7 separate regions of the Homo sapiens genome follow, and all the other regions are linked to region 6. Evidence: promoter capture Hi-C in 16 types of primary human blood cells and fetal thymus (Javierre and others, 2016). All regions are on one chromosome and are shown on one strand. Each heading gives the region's core, a stretch centred on a gene start or on the middle of the fragment in contact. The rest is flanking DNA. Distances are from core to core; before and after follow the strand shown. Region 1 overlaps ZNF606 (zinc finger protein 606). Region 2 holds the start of ZNF606 (zinc finger protein 606). Region 3 has its middle 1.7 kb from the start of ZSCAN18. Region 4 holds the start of ZNF586 (zinc finger protein 586). Region 5 overlaps ZNF274 (zinc finger protein 274). Region 6 holds the start of ZNF583 (zinc finger protein 583). Region 7 overlaps ZNF329 (zinc finger protein 329).

Region 1 (2,700 bases), core at 40-2,539, 1.6 Mb after region 6:
AACAGTACCTATCTCAGAGTAAAGGGGACTAAACAAGTTAACACTTGGAAAGCATTTAAAAGAAAGCCCAGCACATAAGTGTTATATGTATTTGTAAAACTTTTTAAAAATCTCAACTGGGTTAACTTTTCCATGGATCTTTCAGGTCCTTACCCATATACATTTTTTTAGATGTGTTACAGTAAGTATGTATATACAATTCTGTATCCTTTTTATTCCTTCATGTTATGTATACTGATGCAGTGTCCATAATTATAATTTATAGTGATTGCCTAAAACAAATTACAAACTAATTGCCCAACAATGCAGTGATGAGTAACAATGGACGCTGACACACTGGGCTAAGGATCACTTTCTGTCCAGCAACATCAGTCTCACACTCCTAGGCAATAACTTTTCTACCGTTAGTCATCTCATTCATTAATTTTCTCTAAGGAGGTTAATCAACAGTAAATACCCCATTCAATACTATTATTTTTCTTACATTCAGATTTAGCACTTCATATTCTACTCCTGGGCACCCAGACCCTCCCCTTATAACAACAAAATCTGTATTTCTACAATTATGCACAAAATGTTATTGTAGAGTTTTCCATCCAGTACTCCAGCTTGATGCAAAACAGTGTATTTCCAGTCAAAAACTTTTCTCTGCATAAGGTTTTTCCCTTAGCAATTCACACCAATCTACAATTGGTGAGAGCTCTTGCTAAAAGATGCCTCATTCCCCACAGTCATGGTCCTCAAGTATGAATTACTGGTAGACCATAAGGGGAGTTTAGAGTTTCCTTCATTGTTAATTATCTGATTTTGAGTAAGGGCTAAATAACTGCTGAAAGCTTTTCCCTATTCTTTTCCTTCATGGGGTTTCTTCTAAGATGATATTTTCTAGTAAATAATGTGGGAGAAGTCTTACTGAACTCTTAATGAAAAATGTCCCCTCTTGATTATGTTTATAGGGTTTTCCTCAATGTGTTGTCAAATGTACAAGAAACGAAAAACTCGCATAAATTCAATTCAGTTTCTCTTCACTGTGATTTCTCTGGTGTTGAAGTAGGGCTGAGTGACCACTAAAGGCTTTTCCACATTCACTGCATATAAAGCGTTTCTCTCCACTATGCATTCTCTGATGAATAATAAGGGAAGAATTCTTACAAAATGCTTTTTCACAATGATTACATTTGTAGGGCTTTTCTCCAGTATGGTTTCTTAGGTGTACAATAAGGGATGAACTCTCATTAAATGCTTTCCCACATTCATTACACCTGTATGGTTTCTCTCCAGTATGAGTTCTCCGGTGTGCAATGAGGTGAGAACTACAGTTAAAGGATCTTTCACACTGATTACATTTATAGGGTTTCTCACCAGTGTGAATTCTCCGATGAGCAACAAGGTGACAGCTCTGACTGAAGGATTTTCCACATTTATTGCATTCATAGGGTTTTTCTCCAGTATGAGTCCTTTGATGTCTAACAAGGTGAGCCATCTGGCTACAGGATTTTCCACATTTATTACATTCATAGGGCTTAATTCCAGAATGAATTATCTCATGTTTAGTGAGGGCTGAGCGTTCTCTGAATGCTTTGCCACATTCCTGACAGTTATATGGTTTCTCTCCCGTGTGAGTTCTCTGATGGGCAATAAGATGGGAGCTCCAGCTGAAGGATTTTCCACATTCAGTACATTTATATGGTTTTGCTCCAGAATGAGTTCTTTCATGTTTACTAAGGGCTGAGTAGTCCCTAAAAGCTTTTTCACATTCATCACATTTAAAGGGTTTCTCTCCAGTATGCATTCTCATATGGGCAATAAGATGGGAGCTCCAGCTGAATGATTTCCCACATTCAGTACATTCAAAAGGTTTCTCTCCTGTATGAGTCCTCTGATGTCCAATAAGATGAGAGTTCCAGTTGAAAGATTTCCCACACTCATTACAAACATAAGGTTTTTCTCCTGTATGAATTCTCTTATGTACAATAAGATGAGAATTCCAGCTGAAGGCTTTTCCACATTTATTACATTCATAGGGTTTTATTCCAGTGTGAGTCCGTTCATGTTTCGTAAGGGCTGAGCGATTCCTAAAAACTTTTCCACATTTATCACATTCATAGGGTTTTTCTCCAGTATGAGTTTTCTTATGTTGAATAAGGTAAGAGCTCCAGATGAAAGACGTCCCACATTCATTGTAGTCATAGGGTTTCTCTGCAGTGTAAGTGCTTGTATGTTGAGTAAGGAAAGAGTCATACCCAAAGACTTTCTCCCATTCATTGTATTTATACGCTTTCTCTACAGTACCAATTTTTTGATGTTCCATAAAGGATGAGAAATAAAAGATATTCTCATATTCTTTGTAATTATACTGGTTTTCTCCAACATGAAGCCTTGGGTGTTCATTAAATGATGGGCTCTGGTTAAAGATTTGATGGCATTCCTTATATTCATAGAGTTTTTCTCCTGTGTGAATTCCTTTATGATCACCAAAATGTATTATATGATTGAAAGATTTAACAGCATCAGTACATTTGAAAAGATTATCTCCAGTTTGTATTCTTGCAGGGTAAATAGGTTGAATGGACTGATAAACAGTTTTGTCATAATCATTATTTTCACAGGTAACCTTATCTGCATACATTATGGCTGAGTCACATCTCCAACTTTGAGCATGTGTATCAGGCTTATAGAAATGTTCTATCTGAGAAACTC
Region 2 (2,700 bases), core at 198-2,697, 1.6 Mb after region 6:
AGTGACAAAAGTGAAAAAAGACAAAACTAGTCCTTTCTCACAGAAGACCAAGTGGGAACAAAGAAGGGAATCCATCCACCGAAGCAACAAAAAAACTTGTAAGGAGCATCGTAAGAAAAGAGAATTTACATGTCAAAAAAGTAACACAATTCCTGGAGAGAAATGAAAGGTAATTTGCATAAGCTGGAAAAAAGAGCATGATCCTGAATGAGAGGGTACAAATTTGTCAGCTATTCCCAAGAGACAGCCAGTCACAACACAGATGGAACTTTTGGATTAATCTGACAATTATTGTAAAATCAACTTGCAATCCTCATATATTAGTGGTTGCCTAGAGCTGGGGGAAAAATGAAATGGGGAGTGACTGCTTAAGGGGAACAAGGGTTTCTTTGTGGGGTGATGAAATGTTCTAAAATTAGATAATGGGGATGATTGCACAACTTTATTAATATACAATAAAACCGGTGAATTGCACACTTTTAAGTGCTTAAAGTGAACATTATGTTATGCAAATTTAATCCCACCTCCAAAAAAAATTCACCTCCAAGATTTACTAAGCCTAAGCTTGTGTGTGTGTGGAGGACTTAGAGATGGGCCTGGCGCCCAGACCCCTAACTCCTCAGGTTCCAGATCTTTGTACAAGTCAGCAACCTCTCGAATGGATTCCTGGGTATGTGTATAAAGCACTAGAACACACAGTGGGCCTCAGGAGCACCGGAATCAGCGCGAAAACGCAGAATGCAAACCGTACTTTGCACCATTATTTGCAACTTGACAGTGACCGCCGCCGTCACTGCATGTTTAAGGGAACCCGGAGCTGTTTCCAACCCAGGTCTGACGTCCTTCACAGTGCTTTGTGTGAACTGGCAGGGGGAGAAACGACGGCTGGGGAACGAACGGGGTTATTCGTCCCATCAATGGCCTCAGAAGCATCCTTATCACCTGCTTCCAGAGCTCCCGACCCAAATTTCCTCCTCAAGACCGACGCGGCCGCGACGCTGCAAAAGCTCGTCCCGGCCTCACCTGGCTCGCGGCCGGCGGTCCCCCTTGAAGGCGGCGCAGCAGGATCGGGGTCTGCCCGCCTGGGGCGTTTGGCTTTTGTCCCGCGCCGAGGTCCGGCCCAGGAGTGCGCTTGGGAGCTCCCGGCGCGGCCTCGGGGACAAAGGCCCGCGGAGCCGACGTGCAGCAGAGTTCACCCAGGCCCGTCCGACCAGAAAACGAAGAACGCCCGGAGGCGGGAGGCCGGAGGCAGGCTGCTGGCTGGAGAACCGACGGCAACGACGGCGCAAAGCCGGCGCGGAAAGGGCAGGCGCAGGACCCACCCTGACGCCGCCTCTCCCAGCCGGCTCTCCTGACCCCCCAAGCCCCGCAGCTACGGCGGCCCCACAGCCTGAGCAAAGGCCTCACCTCAGCCGCGGACAATGGCGGCTGCTTCCCCGGCGTCGACCGGAGCGCGCCGCGGGGTCTGCTGGGAGCTGTAGTTCCAGGCGGGCACTTCCGGCGTCGGGCAGCGGCGCCGCCATGACAGGTTCCTGGGCCGCGCCGCCTCGCCCTGCCTGGGCGGGGTTGGGACCTTTCTGGCACCTGCGTCGAAGCCGGCGGCAGGATGGACTTTGTTGTCCCGGTCCCAGACCACCCTCCTCCACCGTCGCCTCCCACTGCAAAAAGGCCTGGGTAAGTCGCGGCCCCGCGGGCCTCGGTTTGCCCATCCGCAAAATGGCGCCTCGTGGTACCGGGTTTCCCGGGAGGAGCTCGGCGAGTTCTCAGCGCTCTCGAGGGATCCTTCCATTTGGCGTTCGCAAGATTGTGAGAAAGTGACTGCTGTTATTCTCTTTAAGATAAGGAACCTAATTCGAGCTACCCTTCTCTGTGAAGCTCGACGGCTGAGAACGTCAGGGCTCGTTCCCAAGTCTCTTTCCAGAGGCCAGGCTTTATGGGAGCATGGGTTACCAGCGACGCACCCTGTGAGTTTTCCTCTATCGATATGCATGGAGCGGTTCGGGAGCGGTGGCTCATTCCTGTAGTCCCAGCACTTCGGGAAGCTGTGGCGGGAGGATCAGTTGAGTTCAGGAGTTCGACACCACCCTGGGCAACATAGCGAGACCACATCTCTACAAAAAAAATACAAAAATTAGCCCGGTGTGATGGCGCGCGCCTGTAGTCCCCGCTACTTAGGAGGTTGCGGTGGAAGGATTGCTTGAGCCTGGGAGGTCAAGGTTGCAGTGAGCTATGATCGCACCACTGCACTTCAGCCTGGGCAACAGAGCAAGACCCGGCATTAAAACAAACAAAAACGGGCCGGGCGCGGTGGCTCACAGCTGTAATCCCAGCACTTTGGGAGGCCAAGGCAGGTGGATCGCCTGAGGTCAGGAGTTCCGAGACCAGTCTGGGCAACATGATAAAACCTCGTCTCTACTAAAAATACCAAAAATTAGCCGGGCTTGGTGGAGGGCACCTGTACCCAGCTACTTGGGAGGCTGAGGCAGGAGAATCGCTTGAACCCGGGAAGCGGAGGCTACAGTAAGCCGAGATCAAGCCATTGCACTCCAGCCTGGGCAGCAGGGCAAGACTCTGTCTCAAAAAAAGGGACTGAGGGACTGTAGGTGGTGATACCAAAGAAAGCATGGCCATTTAGGAAGCTAGACTTGAGTGAGCAGTGGGCAAGAGAGATTTTGAAGATATTTCCACTAGTAATGGAGG
Region 3 (2,700 bases), core at 8-2,507, 1.7 Mb after region 6:
GCTCGGGGGCAGACCAAGACGCCCTGGGGTCCCCGAAACAGAGATGTACAGAGTCGGACACGGAAAGGGAGAGACCAGCTCACGGTTAAGAAAGGAGGGAGACCAGCCCAGGATCAAGAAAGGGAAAGACCAGCATGGGCTCAAGAAAAGAAAGAGACCAGCTCAGGCTCAGGAAAAGAGAGAGACCCAGAGAAAAGGAGCACTCGAGGCTGAGACAGATCTGGACAGAGATACAGAGACAGGGACCAGCAGACCCAGTACTGGGGAGACAAGAGGTGGAGACCCAGAGACACTGATGCGCTAAAATGGGTTCTACAGTTTCAAGGAGTGGATAGAACTCAAAGATTACCCACCCCAGGGATTCAGGAGCTGCTGAAATGAGGGAAATGTGAGTGGCAGCTGGGGTGAGGGCTTTGGCAAAGCCCCATATAAATGTAGCCCCCCTGGAAGGCAGGATAGGGCCAGGAGCTGCTTCCCATTTCAGTTTTCCAGATAGAGGCGCTTATGAGGATGCCATTTTGGTCGTTTTTGTGTGAACTGATTTTTAAAATGTATATCTGAACAGTTTATATATTTTAAATTTACATACACCACACATTTTGGTATTCAGTTTTATGAATTTTAACTCATATCCACCAACAAACTCGGGACAAAGAATAGCTCCACTGCCCAAAAATCCTCCTGCTGCCTCTTGGTAGTCACTCCCTCCCCACCCATAACCCCAGGAACAGCTAATCTAAGTAGTCCACTGCTACAATTTTGCCTTCACAGTGTCATATAAGTGGGATCATACAGTATGTGGCCTCTTCAGATTGGCTTTTTCACTGAACATAATTCCTTTGAGAGGCATTGAAGTAGTATGTATCAACAGTTCATTCCATTTTATTGAGAAGTAGTATTCTATGGTATATAGCAGTTTAAACCTTCTCCCACTGAGAGATATTAGGATCGTTTTAAGTATTTTGCTATTAAAAATAAAGCTGCTATGAACATTCGTGTACAGATTTTTCTGTGAACGTAAGTTTTCACTTTTCTGGGATAAAAGCCCAAGAGTGCAGTTTCTAGGTCACACAATGAACACGTGCTTATTAGTGTTGTAAGAAGCTGCCACACTCTCATGCAGAGTAGCTGGACCATTTTACACTCCCACCACCAATGAATGTGTGAATCCACTTCACATTTTTATCAGCATTTGTGTTTTGCTATTTTTTATTTTGGCCATTCTGATAGGTATGTACTGATATATCATTGTGGTTTCAATTTGCATTTCCCTTAATTGCTAACAAGTTTGAGCACACTTTAATGATTTTTTTGGCATTTGTATACCCTCTTCATTAAAGTATCTGTTCGTATCTTTTGCCCATTTTCTAATTTTTAAAAAAATTGCTCAGTTTTGAAAGCTATGTTTTTTTTTTTTTTGAGACAAGGTCTCACTCTGTCACTGAGGCTAGAGTGCAGTGGTGCCATCATGAATCACTGCAGCCTTGACCTTCCAGGCTCAAGTGATCCTCACCTCAGCCTCCCGAGTAGCTGGAACTACAGGTGTGCGCTACCATACCCAGCTAATTTTTTTTTTTAAGAGATGGGGTCTCACTATAATGCTAAGGCTGGTCTCAGACCCCCGGGCTCAAGCAATCCTCCCACCATGGCCTCCCAAAGTGCTGGGATTACAGGCATGAGCCACCATGCCCAGTCTTTCCAGTTTATTTTAATGGATATAACTCAGGAACTGCCAAATGGAAGAGATGCACAGCTAAGGTCTGGTCAGGGGCACTGAAGGTGCAGTGCATCCATGTACCGTCTGGGTGAGCCATCCTCCCAGCACTCAGATGTGTTCACCAACCCAGCTCTCTCAATCGTGGGGCAGAGAGAGGGTCCATACCTTCTTTAAGGTGACTATCCCCATCCTGAAGATATCTATGGGTCCCACTGGAGTCACCTCATTAGCATAAACTCAGGTGTGGTCGAAACGGGCTCCTTATGAATTGCAAACCCTATTCCTATTATTCACAAAATTCCAAGGCTTTTAGCTCTGTGCCAGGAACCAGGGATAAAGATCAAATGTAAGGGCCAGGCGCGGTGGCTCATGCCTGTAATCCCAGCACTCTAGGAGGCCAGCGGGCGGATCACGAGGTCAACATGGTGAAACCCTGGCTCTACTAAAAATACAAAAATTAGCCAGGCATGGTGGCAGGTGCCTGTAATTGCAGCTGCTCGAGAGGCTGAGGCAGCTTGAAACTGGAAGGCAGGGGCTGCAGTGAGTTGAGATCGCACCACTGCACTCCAGCCTGGGCAAAAGAGCAAAACTCCATCTAAAAAAAAAAAGAAAAAAGATGAAATGTAGGTTTTATTACACCACAGATGGCCAATTGTTCTTGCACCATCTGGAAAAGGCTATCTTTCCTGCATTGAATAGCTTTTGCTCCTTAAAAAATCAGTCAGGAATATCTTTGCAGGTCTATTTCCGGGTTCTCGATTCCGTTCCACTGATCTATGTGTCTGCCAATACCACATTGGGTTACCACGGCTACAGAGTAACAACATCAGGTGCAGTTATTCCTCCCACTTTTTTTTTTTTTTTTTTTTTTTTTGAGACAGAGTCTTGCTCAGTTGCCCAGGCTGGAGCGCAGTGGCGCGATCTCGGCTCACCGCAAGCTCCACCTCCCGGGTTCACGCCATTCTCCTGCCTCAGCCTCCCGA
Region 4 (2,806 bases), core at 29-2,528, 1.4 Mb after region 6:
CCCTGTGCATGTAGCAGGACGAGCCGCAGACAAAACCTCTCAGACACCGAGTTGCAGAAGGAAGGGCTTTATTCAGCTGGGAGCATTGGCCAGCTACTGTCTCAAAATCTGAGCTCCCGGAGTGCACAATTTCTGTCCCTTTTAAGGGCTCACAACACTAAAGATTTCACATGAAAGGGTCGTGATTGATTTGAGCAAGCAAGGGGTATGTGACAGGGGCTGCATGCACCGGTGGTCAGGGAGGAACAGAACAGGGCAGGGAGTTTCACAATGTTCTTCTATACAATCTAAGGAATCTATGAATAACATCGGCTTCTAAATCATAAGTTGATTTTTAACTACTGGGTTTAGGCCAGGCGGGCCTAGGCCTGGTTTCGGGCCTGGCGCGGGGTTGCCTGTCTTTGGTTTTACTTCCTTGTTGTTTTTACTGAATATAAAACAATGTGAGAGGGTCTCTCTCTTCTCTCATGCATACATACTCCATGTTTGAACACCGCAGCCATTGTCCTGTAACATAATAGCATTTGTCTCATTAGCTTTTTGATGTTGATATCAGATTTCTAGAGGAATCTGTAGGTTAAAGATATAAATAAAAGTGTTGCTAATGGGCTGAGAACGGTGGTTCACGCCTGTAATCCTAGCACTTCGGTAGACCATTGCAGGCAGATCACTTGAGGCCAGAAGTTCGAGACCAGCCTGGCCAAAATGAGGAAACCCCGTCTCTACTAAAAATACAAAAATTAGCAGGGTATGGTGGCACACGCCTGTAATCCCAGCTACTCGGATGGTTGAGGCACGAGAATCGCTTGAACCCGGGAGGCATAGGCTGCAGTGAGCCAAGATCACACCACTGCACCCCAGCCTGAGTGACAGAGAGAACTATGTCTTAAAAAAAAGACAAAAAAAAAAAAAAAAGGAAGAAGCCGAGCATCACAAATTCTGAAATAAGAAGTCTCCAAACACGCGGGCAATCAGTTGCACACAGTACCCCCAGAAATGTGCGTATGGCCTCTTCTAAGATGGGAGACCCTCCTCCGCATCTGGACCTGGAGTCGCCATTTCCTAGCGCCCCTCGCAGTGGAGCTTGCCCCTTTCTTCGGAAAGTCGGAAGAAAGCCACCTTAAGCGCTGCCCATGTCTGGGAACTACATTACCCAGAATCCGCCCTGCGAAATGGTAACGTGGCTGAGCCAATGAAGCTTCAGAGAAGCCGTGCCATTGCCGGGGCACGTAAAGTCAAGCCAGGACTTCCGGCGTCCTAGCCGTGGCAGCCATTTTGGCCTGTCAGGTCCATCCGGCGATGCTGGGTCTGGACGAGCTCGGGAGGAGTGGTTGTGGCCATTGCACACAGGCGGATCTGAGGTTCGGCGACGCCGCTGGTCGCGACCCGGGACAGGACAACGACAGGAACACCGCCGAGCCCGCGTTCCCCCCCCGCCCAGAGTCATGGCGGCAGCAGCCGCTCTGAGGGCGCCTGCTCAGGTGAGCGCTGCGACCTCCGGGCCTTACCCACCCTACCCACCCAGACCCTGAGGCCCCTGATCGTGAGGGCCGCCTCCTCGCGTCCCTGCAGCCCAGGCCTCTGTCAGGGACGGAGAGGCGCCGGCGGGTGGGATCCCTGTTTCCGACACCCAGTTGATGCGGTCGGCAGAGCGAGACTGGCGGAGGGCAAAGGCCTGCAGGCGCGACTGAGGCAGGAGGATGCGGAACACGGGGACATCGTGTGTCTACTGGGAAAGAAGTGTGATACGGAGTTATTTCTTTTTTTTTTTTTTTTTGAGACGGAGTCTCACTCTGTCGCCCAGGCTGGAGTGCAGTGGCGCGATCTCGGCTCACTGCAAGCTCCACCTCCCCGGTTCAAGCGATTCTCCTGCCTCAGCCTCCCGAGTAGCTGGGATTACAGGCATGCGCCACCACGGGGTTTCACCATGTTGGCTAGGCTGGCCTCGAACTCCTGACCTTAGGTGATCCGCCCACCTCGGCCTCCCAAAGTGCTGGGAATACAGGCGTGAGCCACCGCGCCTGGCCGAGGCGGAGTTGTTTCTTCAGTACCAGGCTGAGGGTTGAACTTTGACTGTGAGGACGCTAAAAGCCATGGACAGTTTTGAACAAAGGAGGAAATCTGTGTTAGAGTTGCGATTCCCAAAAGATGTTCGAAGGAAGAACAGAGTTGAAGGCAGTGATGAGGACATTGAGAGGTTGAATCATTGAGAGGTGACATTGAGCACTGGGCCACAAGATTAGAGACTCAGTCTGAAGTCATCTGGCTGCAGGGCCAAAAAAAGCTTACAGAGAAGCCTGAGTCTATCAAATCCGAGCACAGACACATTTGTGAAAGCCCTGCCTTTTGGCACACCTCATGGCTACAGAAGCACTTACAGAATCCACAGTAGGAAGTAGGGGATGCTCTAGTCCTTCACTGGTCCTCATCCTATCCCACATGTCTAGATCTTGGCATCTTTTTTTTTTTTCGGCGACGGGTTCTCACTCAACACCCAGGCTGGGTTGCGGTGACGCGATCACGGCGCAGCACGGCCTCGACCTCTCCGGGCTCAGGAGAGCCTCTCATCTCAGTCTCCCGAGTAACTGGCTTTTTGTATTTTTAGTAGAGGTGGGGTTTCACGGCCGGGCGCGGTGGCTCACGCCTGTAATCCTAGCACTTTGGGAGGCCGAGGCGGGCGGATCACGAGGTCAGGAGTTTGAGACCATCCTGGCTAACACGGTGAAATCCCCCCTCTACTAAAAATACAAAAAATTAGCCAGGCCTGGTGGCACACACCTGTAGTCCCAACTACTTGGGAGGCTGA
Region 5 (2,700 bases), core at 82-2,581, 1.8 Mb after region 6:
ACGCACCACTCCCAAAGTCAGAATTTTCAAATGAATAAGAAATAGGGGGCCGGGCGCGGTGGCTCACGTCTGTAATCCCAGCACTTTGGGAGGCCGAGGCAGGTGGATCACGAGGTCAGGAGATTGAGACCATCCTGGCTAACATAGTGAAACCCCGTCTCTACTTAAAAAAATACAAAAAATTAGCCGGGCGTGGTGGCGGGCGCCTGTAGTCCCAGCTACTCGGGAGGCTGAGGCAGGAGAATGGCGTGAACCGGGGAGGCGGAGCTTGCAGTGAGCCGAGATGGCGCCACTGCACTCCAGCCTGGGCGACAGAGAGAGACTCCGTCTCAAAAAAAAAAGAAAAGAAAAATAGGGCCGGGTGCGGTGGCTCACATGTGTAATCCCAGCACTTTGGGAGGCCGAGGCAGGCAGATCACAAGGTCAGGAGTTCGAGACCAGCTTGACCAACATGGTGAAACCCCATCTCTACTAAAAATACAAAAATTAGCCGGGCATGGTGGTATGCGCCTGTAATCCCAGCTACTCAGGAGGCTGAGGCAGGAGAATCGCTTGAACCTGGGAGGTGGAGGCTGCAGTGAGCCAAGATTGCGCCACTGCACTCCACTAGGAGACAGAGTGAGACTCTGTCTCAAAACAATAAATAAATAAATTAAATAAATAAATAAATAAATAAAATGGACAGATTTTCATATGCTACAGAGATCTCATGTGTTGCTCTCCTTATTGTAACCTGAATAGAGTCAAGCTTGGGTTTGCTTGGGGTTTCAGACAAAGACAGGAACTCAGGATGAGACTCCCAAAATGCCCTTGGGTCATCTTGTAGACCATTCTGTGCTTTCACTGGCCTGGTCAGCCTCCCCTGTCTTTCTTTTGTCGTGGATGCGGATGGCCTGTGGCTGAACAAGAATCTGGATTTTTAGGAACCAGTGACCTTTGAAGATGTAACACTGGGTTTTACCCCGGAAGAGTGGGGACTGCTGGACCTCAAACAGAAGTCCCTGTACAGGGAAGTGATGCTGGAGAACTACAGGAACCTGGTCTCAGTGGGTAAGGCTGGCCTCCAGGTCAAGAAGGATCTGTGCTTTGTAGCACAAATGTAGCACCTCTGAAGTATGTGTCTGCTTGGGCTCACACTGCAGGGGCACCAGTAGGAAAAGGGCAGCTTTTCAGTATGACTTCTGAATCATTGCCTAGTCCATCCCTCCCTGAATACCAGGGAGATGGGTCTGTCAGGGATGTTTTCAGCTGCAGTAGTGGATGCTTATTGTTCTTGCAACAAGAGTTCCGGCCAGGCATGGTGGCTCACTTTAGGAGACTGAAGCAGGAGGATTGCTTGAGCCCAGGAGTTTGAGACCAGCATGGGCAACATAGACCGTGTCTCTATTAAAAAAAAAAAAAAAAAGAAACTCCACAGAAATTCCAGACAATGCGATGCCAGTGTCCCAACAGCTTAGGAGTAGCATCAAAGAGCCTGTCCCTGCCAGGCACGGTAGCTTACGCCTGTAATCCTGGCACTTTGGGAGGCTGAGGCAGGCAGATCAGTTGAGGTCAGGAGTTCTAGACCAACCTGACCAACATGATGAAACCCTGTCTTTACTAAAAATACAAAAATTAGCCGAGCACCCCAGCTACTCAGGAGGCTGAGCCAGGAGAACTGCTTGAACATGGGAGGTGGAGGAGATTGCAGTGAGCTGAGATCAGATCACAGCACTCCAGCTTGGGCAACTGAGCAAGACTCCGTCTCAAAAAAAAAAAAAAAAAGCCTGTCCCTTCAAACTCTGGTTATTGTGAACCTTTCCATGTTCCCCCTAGTCATTGCACAGCTGTGGCTCCAAGCATTGCATCTGTGTTCAAGGCAGAAACAAGGAGAAGGGGTAGCCCTTTCACAGCTGTCATGTTTAACCAGAAAGCAAAAGCTTTCCCAGCTGACCGATCTCCCTTTGTGTCTGGCTGACCAGAACTGGACCCCTTAGCTGCTTGGCAAAGGAGTCTAGGAAAGCCAACAACAGGGATGGATGGAGTTGTGTTCACTGCTCTAGGCCAGAAGTCATGTGCCTTAGCAGGGGAGAAGCTGGAGACGGCTTGTGCTGCAGTAGGATAGCATTTTCTCCTGAACACAGACCCCCACAAGCCCTGTCTCTTTTCCTTTGAGCAGAACATCAGCTTTCCAAACCAGATGTGGTATCTCAGTTAGAGGAGGCAGAAGATTTCTGGCCAGTGGAGAGAGGAATTCCTCAAGACACCATTCCAGGTGAGAACCAGACATGGGAAGCCCCCACAGGGAAGGGGCCAACTGATGAGTCAGGGACCAGTATCTTGGAAAAGCAGTAGACATTGGGATACCCCAGGTGGGATGCTGTGATGAGCAGTTGCAGAACCAAACTCGAAGTTTTTCTCTGGCTCCACAGTCAGCAGTGTCCTACTTGGTTGAAAGTGAACCTGTTGCTGGTGGCAGGTGATACTTGTGTTGACAGTAGGGGCTCCCTTAGTCTGTTACACGCATTGTCTACTGCCCTCCCCTCATAATCACTGGTAACCCTGGTGTGTATTTCCAGCCAGACTTTCTTATATAGGCTTACGTGAATGTATGTGAATATATATACACATTTTGGGGGTGTTATAATACAGACAAGTCAGCTTCTTTTTGTTTTGGAGACAGGGTCTCTGTCACCGAGGCTGGAGTGCAGTGGCATGATC
Region 6 (2,700 bases), core at 114-2,613:
AGGTTGGGACATTCAACCCCACCCCCAACCCTAAGGAGGGGACGGGATTTTAATCAACCATGCCTATGTAATGAAGCCTCTGTAAAACTCCCAAAAGACAGGGTTTAGAGAGCTTCCACCCAGCTGAACATGTGGAGGTTACTGGAAGGTGCAACACCCTTTTTTCTGTACTTTGCCCTACGCATCTCTTCATCTATATCATTTGTAATATCCTTTATAATAAACTAGTAAACATAAGTGTTTCCTGAGTTCCGTGAGCCACTCTAGCAAAATATCGAACCGCAAAGAGGGGGTGGTGAAAATCCCAATTTGAAGGTGGTGGAGTCAGATGTTCCAGAGGCTAGACTTTAGTGGGAAGTGGGAAGGGGGAGGCAGGCTTGGGGACTGAGCCCTCAGCGAATGGTGTCTGACCCATCTCCAAGTAGACGGCGTCGGAATTAAACTGGAGGACACCCAGCTGGTGCCCGCTGCAGAACTCACTGAACTCATTGCTTGCTTGAGATGTGTGGGAAACTCCCCTATATTTGGTCAGAAAAGTCTTCTGTTATGATTAGTTGTCGTTGAGATAATAGAAAAAAATGCACCTTGCGTTTTTTCCACTGATTCAGAGGGCATAACTGAAAGAATGAAGAACTGAAAGAATGATCTTAATACTCTGCTTCGCTTTTCTTGATAATACGCATTACTTCCCAATATGCATCAGTGTCCTTTATTATTAATTTTTTCCTATTGAATTCCTCCCGCATTAGAATGCTGCTCCATGAGGTGGGGATTTTGTCTGCTTGTTCACTGCTGTGTGCCCAGGGCCCACGACAGTGCCCGATACAGCAGGCGCTCAATAAGTGGCGAATGAAAGACAGGGCAAGGCGGAGAGAGAAGAAACAGAAAGGGAAAGAGAAAGCCCGGGCCGCCAGAGCGCTTAATCACACGTACATCCTACCGGGCCCCTCTCCAGCTGGCTCAGGCTCCACACTGGTCCTCCAGCTCCCTTTTCTCAGCGATGGACTCACAGCCCCACCCGGAGCGCTGGAGCGCGGACGCGGTCACTGCGCGTGCGCCTCACCGCGCTGGCACCCCGGCCTGGCAGCCTTTGGGGACCTGAACCAGCTGCGCCTGCGCAGGTGGAACGGGTGGAACGGGTGGGGGAGCGGACAGTCGAACGGCCTGAGAGGGCTCAGCTGGTCCGGGTGGGATTCTGAAGGCCAGCGGAGGTGGGCTTACTAGGGAAAGGGGCGCAGCAGTAACTACCCGCAACTGAGCGGCGGGATCTGCGGCCGCCCGGGGCCCTCGGCCAACATCCCAGCATCCTCTGCGCCGCGCCGGCCCCGGACTCCATTTCCCAGCGGCCCCTGCGGCCTGCCCTAGGGCTGCGGCGCCTTTGTGAGCGCGGCCGCCGGCCAGGATCGAGCCCTGGCCCGGGCCCTGGCCCAGCCCCGGCCTCCAAGGACCGCGCCGAAGGAGGTGCCCACTGGAGGGAGGAGGCGGTGAGGAGCGCGGGATGGAGCTGACGCCGGGAGCGGCCATGCCACCATGTGTGGGACCGTGTGTGACAGTGTGTGAGAATGTGTGAGACATTAAGGAACCGTGTGTGACAATGTGTTTGACAGTGTGGAATCGTGTGTGAGACCATGTGTGACTGTGTGAGAATTTGAGACCGTGTGTGACAGTGTGAGAATGTGAGGCCGTGTGTGAATATGTGTGTCAGTGTGAGACCATGTGGGACAAATGTGGGACTATGTGTGACAGTATGAGACTGGGTGTGAGAATGTGTGCGACAGTATGAGACCGTTGCCCCGGTGTATGCGGGAGCCTTTGACAGTATATGGGACCGTGTGGGACTGTGTGACACTGTATGTGCTTAAGACCACGTCACCATGTGTGAGACTGGGAATGTGTGACAGTGTTAAACTGTCATTATGTGTAGACCACGTGTGAACAGTGTGTAAGACCATGTCACTGTGTGTGTGACCTGTGTGTGTGGGATAATGTAAGACTGTGTGACAGTGTGTGTGACTTTGTGAACAGAGCTTGACCGTGTGTGTAGGATTAGATGAGACTGTGACAGTATGTGAGACCATGTCACCGTGTGTGAGGCTATGTGTGGTTGTGTACGGTGTGTGGCTGTTGATATGGGACCACATGAAACTGCGACAGAATTTGTGTGACAGTGTGTGAGACTGTGTCACTGTATGTGAAACTGTATGTGAACAGAGTTTTTGTTGTTGGACTAAGATTGTATGTGACAGTGTTTGAGATTGTGCATGACAGTGTGTGTGATTATGTGAGACTGAGGGAGATGGTGTGACTTAGCACTGTATGTCATCCCGACAGTGAGTGTGACAGTGTGACTGAGAATGGCCTTATATGACCCATTGTGAGAGCAGGGCGGGCTACAATGTGGGGGCATGTCCATAGGTTGCCAGGGGAGGTGCCAGAATGAGAAACTATGTGGTTTGTTGTCTGTGATTTGTGTGGGCAGGAAGCTGTGTGGGTGCTTGGAGATGCTGGTGTGCTCTGGGGTTTGGGAGACTGCTGTTGTGGTGGAGAGACAGAAAGATTGAGATAAAGGGGAAAAGATGGAGAAAGGGAGGGACGAGAGCTGAAAAGGGAGAGACAGACAGGAGCCTCAGCCTTAAGCCTGAAAAGCTGACCACGCTGGCTGCTTGTCCTCTGGCACAGTAGTTTTTCCATCCCTCTCAG
Region 7 (2,870 bases), core at 277-2,776, 1.7 Mb after region 6:
TCACCCCCATGTTTGCACATTTCATTCCAGTGTGTGTGTTGTCATGTCTGGTACAGACTGAATCATCCCCAAAGACTTTTCTGCCCTCATCCTAAGTTGTCTCTGGAGTTCCCCAATGAGCAGACTTAACAGTGTGGCTCAGCAATGTCTCACATTCATCAATTCACTGGATAGCTTAAAGGATTCTTTTCTACTGACCAGAGAGGAGTCAGATCTAAGACACGCCTCCTAAACACAGGAGTGAGAGTGAACTGGAAGACTCATGTGGCCCCCAACCATTATGTTTCCATGGGTTGCTCTCCCAGGTGTGCTCTTTGATGTCGAACAAGGGATGAGCTCTTTTGGAACATTTTTCCACACTGAGGACACCGGCTGGGACCCTCCCTGCTATGGAGTCTCTGATGTACTGCCAGGTGAGAGTTCTGCTTGAAGGACTTCCCACATTCTGGACACTGATATGGGGTCTCCTTAGTGTGAATTCTCTGGTGCTTGGTCAGACAGGAGCTGTCCCTGAAGGCTTTGCCACACTGATTACACTCATAGGGCTTCTCACCAGTATGAGTCCTCTGGTGCCTAATGAGGCCAGCGATATTCCTGAAAAGTTTCTGACACTGGTTGCAGCCATAGGGCTTCTCGCCAGTATGAATCCTCTGATGCCTGATGAGGTACGCACTCTCGATGAAAGTCTTGCCACATTCTTTACATTCATAGGGTTTCTCCCCAGAATGGATCTTTTGATGCACAATGAGGTGAGAGTTTCTGTTGAAGGATTTCCCGCACTCTGCACACTCAAAGGGCTTTTCTCCAGTGTGAGTCCTCTCATGCTGGGTGAGGTACGAGCCGTCCCGGAAAGCCTTTCCACATTTGCTACACTCATAGGGCTTCTCACCGGTGTGGATTCTGAGATGCACTGTAAGGTGGGAGATGTCAGTGAAGGGTTTCCCACATTCGTTACATCTATATGGTTTTTCCCCTGTATGAGTTCTTTGGTGCAAAATTAAGGATGAATTTCGGTTGAAGGTTTTTCCACACTCTAGGCATTCATAAGGTTTCTCGCCTGTGTGAATTCTCTGGTGCTGTGTCAGAGCTGAGCCATCACTGAAAGCTTTCCCACATTTACTGCATTCATAGGGCTTCTCTCCTGTGTGGATTCTTTGATGCACAATCAGGTTGTAGTTCTTGGAGAAGGACTTTCCACACTCATTACAAGTATAAGGCTTCTCTCCGGTGTGAGTTCGGTGATGCAAAACAAGAGAAGAGTTCCGTTTGAAGCATTTGCCACATTCAGTACATCTATATTGTTTCTCTCCAGGGAGATTTCTCTGGTTTTCATTAAGCGATGAGCTCAGAGTAAAGATGTTCTCAAAATTCTTACCTTCATACGATTTCTTGCCTCTTTTCATTATTTTCTGATGACCAAGAGAGGTAAAATGATTAAAAGACTTAACACTTTCAGGGTATTTGTAGGGCTTCTCTCTCACTGGATTTCTTCCATGAATAACTTCCATGGAATGGTTGAAGCCTTTTCCACAGGCATCACTGTCACCAGTTCTCTTATCTGCATAACTTTTAGGATAGCTGGGTAAGGCGGGGTCACAATCCAGACCACTAACATTTGAGTCAGGTGCATGGAAACCATTTGTTGCCAGAACTCTCTGAGACGGTGGAAGGTCTGAGCTTGCAATCAAATGCTCCCCAAAACCAGGATATTCACAAATTGCTTCCTGAGTCCCTGGTTTCTCCAGAGTTAAAGCTGATTGCCTCAAGTGTCCCTCCTGGTTCTCACAGTCCCAACCATCACCTAAACTGGACAAGCAGGGAACTTCCCTTGTGAATCTTTCCACTTCTACATCACAGGGTACTTCTCTCTCAGGAAAATTCCGAGTCGTCATTTTCAATCTCATATCCCAAACTGCAAAAAGAAGAAAAATGCAGACTTAGGTATATGAAGCTTTATCTGTAAGAGAAACAGACAATGATGATGGGCTAGGTGTAAAGATGTGTATTTTTTTACTTGTTTTCTCTTTTAAATTCAAATTTATACAAGGAAGAGGTAAAATCGTAGCCAAGGAATGGAACCAAGAACAGATTCAAAAAGAGCCATGTAGCATTTTCATCTTCCTAGAGAGCAGGCAGGAGGAATGGACCTCGGGATAAATCATCACCAAAAGGATTAGTTTGAGATGTGAGAGACCAGAGGCCAAGCATCCCTGCTCCCCCTAGAATTCCATCCCAGCCACTGCATTCTTGTCCCTGTCACACACTGCCCATCAGTACACATTTCCAAAGCTCTGACTTCACAATGAGCTTACAACAGCACTGAAGGAACAGTTCTCACCCCAGCTCTGTCATCAAAGTTCTGCATTCATGGATAGGACAAAGCACAGGCTTGGTGACCTAAAAGTTCTGGGTCTAAGTCTTAGAACTGTCAATGACCTGGCGGGGCACAGTGGTTCACTCCTGTAATCCCAGCACTTTGGGAAGTGGAGGCAGGTGGATCATTTGAAGTCAGGAGTTCAAGACCAGCCTGACCAACATGGTGAAACACCGTCTCTACTAAAAATACAAAAAAAATCAGCCAGGCGTGGTGGCACATGCCTGTAGTCCCAGCTACTCTGGAGGCTGAGGCAGGAGAATCACTTCAACCTGGTAGGCAGAGGTTGCAGTGAGCTGAGATCACACCACTGCACTCCAGCCTACGCGGCAGAGTGAGACTCCATCTCAAAAAACAAAACAAAACAAAAACTGTCAAAGACTGCCCTGCATGGTTGTTATAAAAACTGGATCATGTCGGCCAGGCGCGGTGGTCACGCCTGTAATCCCAGCACTTTGGGAGGCCGAGGTGGGCAGATCACAAGGTCAGGAGATTG

Evidence for each region. The method cuts DNA at HindIII sites, captures the fragments that hold promoters and counts their contacts. A CHiCAGO score of 5 or more calls a contact.
Region 1: a fragment that was not itself captured here is called in contact with the fragment with the promoter of ZNF583 in region 6 in 1 of 17 cell types (non-activated CD4 T cells); the score reaches 5.1 in non-activated CD4 T cells.
Region 2: the fragment with the promoter of ZNF606 here is called in contact with the fragment with the promoter of ZNF583 in region 6 in 1 of 17 cell types (neutrophils); the score reaches 7.7 in neutrophils.
Region 3: a fragment that was not itself captured here is called in contact with the fragment with the promoter of ZNF583 in region 6 in 1 of 17 cell types (non-activated CD4 T cells); the score reaches 6.4 in non-activated CD4 T cells.
Region 4: the fragment with the promoter of ZNF586 here is called in contact with the fragment with the promoter of ZNF583 in region 6 in 5 of 17 cell types (non-activated CD4 T cells, naive CD8 T cells, total CD4 T cells and 2 more); the score reaches 11.5 in non-activated CD4 T cells.
Region 5: a contact is called between a fragment that was not itself captured here and the fragment with the promoter of ZNF583 in region 6, in 4 of 17 cell types (total CD4 T cells, activated CD4 T cells, naive CD8 T cells and 1 more). The highest score is 7.2, in total CD4 T cells.
Region 7: a fragment that was not itself captured here is called in contact with the fragment with the promoter of ZNF583 in region 6 in 5 of 17 cell types (activated CD4 T cells, naive CD8 T cells, total CD4 T cells and 2 more); the score reaches 7.7 in activated CD4 T cells.

What each region holds. Positions count from the first base shown.
Region 1 is chr19:57,977,292-57,979,991 of GRCh38, forward strand. ZNF606 (zinc finger protein 606) reads right to left here. Exons shown (of 7, transcript NM_001348022.3): 7 at 1-2,700. The coding sequence ends at 1,010. Among named protein-coding and RNA genes, the nearest start is that of C19orf18, 4.1 kb to the left of the region's middle. The HindIII fragment of the contact is 910 bases long and covers 835-1,744 here.
Region 2 is chr19:58,001,373-58,004,072 of GRCh38, forward strand. ZNF606 (zinc finger protein 606) reads right to left here and starts at 1,448. Exons shown (of 7, transcript NM_001348022.3): 1 at 1,024-1,448. It overlaps ZNF606-AS1 (ZNF606 antisense RNA 1), which reads left to right and starts at 1,522. Exons shown (of 4, transcript NR_036508.1): 1 at 1,522-1,674; 2 at 1,839-1,964. RefSeq lists an enhancer at 1,380-1,799. The HindIII fragment of the contact is 14,498 bases long and covers 563-2,700 here.
Region 3 is chr19:58,098,560-58,101,259 of GRCh38, forward strand. It overlaps a transcript of ZSCAN18 not described here. Among named protein-coding and RNA genes, the nearest start is that of ZSCAN18, 1.7 kb to the left of the region's middle. The HindIII fragment of the contact is 7,928 bases long and covers 1-2,700 here.
Region 4 is chr19:57,768,398-57,771,203 of GRCh38, forward strand. ZNF586 (zinc finger protein 586) reads left to right here and starts at 1,279. Exons shown (of 3, transcript NM_017652.4): 1 at 1,279-1,481. The coding sequence starts at 1,446. RefSeq lists enhancers at 1,003-1,542, 1,264-1,513. The HindIII fragment of the contact is 1,086 bases long and covers 1,197-2,282 here.
Region 5 is chr19:58,184,789-58,187,488 of GRCh38, forward strand. It overlaps ZNF274 (zinc finger protein 274), which reads left to right. Exons shown (of 8, transcript NM_133502.3): 3 at 924-1,050; 4 at 2,159-2,254. Among named protein-coding and RNA genes, the nearest start is that of ZNF274, 3.1 kb to the left of the region's middle. The HindIII fragment of the contact is 1,171 bases long and covers 747-1,917 here.
Region 6 is chr19:56,402,969-56,405,668 of GRCh38, forward strand. It overlaps ZNF583 (zinc finger protein 583), which reads left to right and starts at 1,364. Exons shown (of 5, transcript NM_152478.3): 1 at 1,364-1,484. RefSeq lists an enhancer at 788-927 and a silencer at 1,388-1,597. The HindIII fragment of the contact is 8,045 bases long and covers 1-2,700 here.
Region 7 is chr19:58,127,600-58,130,469 of GRCh38, forward strand. It overlaps ZNF329 (zinc finger protein 329), which reads right to left. Exons shown (of 4, transcript NM_024620.4): 4 at 1-1,912. The coding sequence starts at 1,904. The coding sequence ends at 279. Among named protein-coding and RNA genes, the nearest start is that of ZNF329, 22 kb to the right of the region's middle. The HindIII fragment of the contact is 846 bases long and covers 1,104-1,949 here.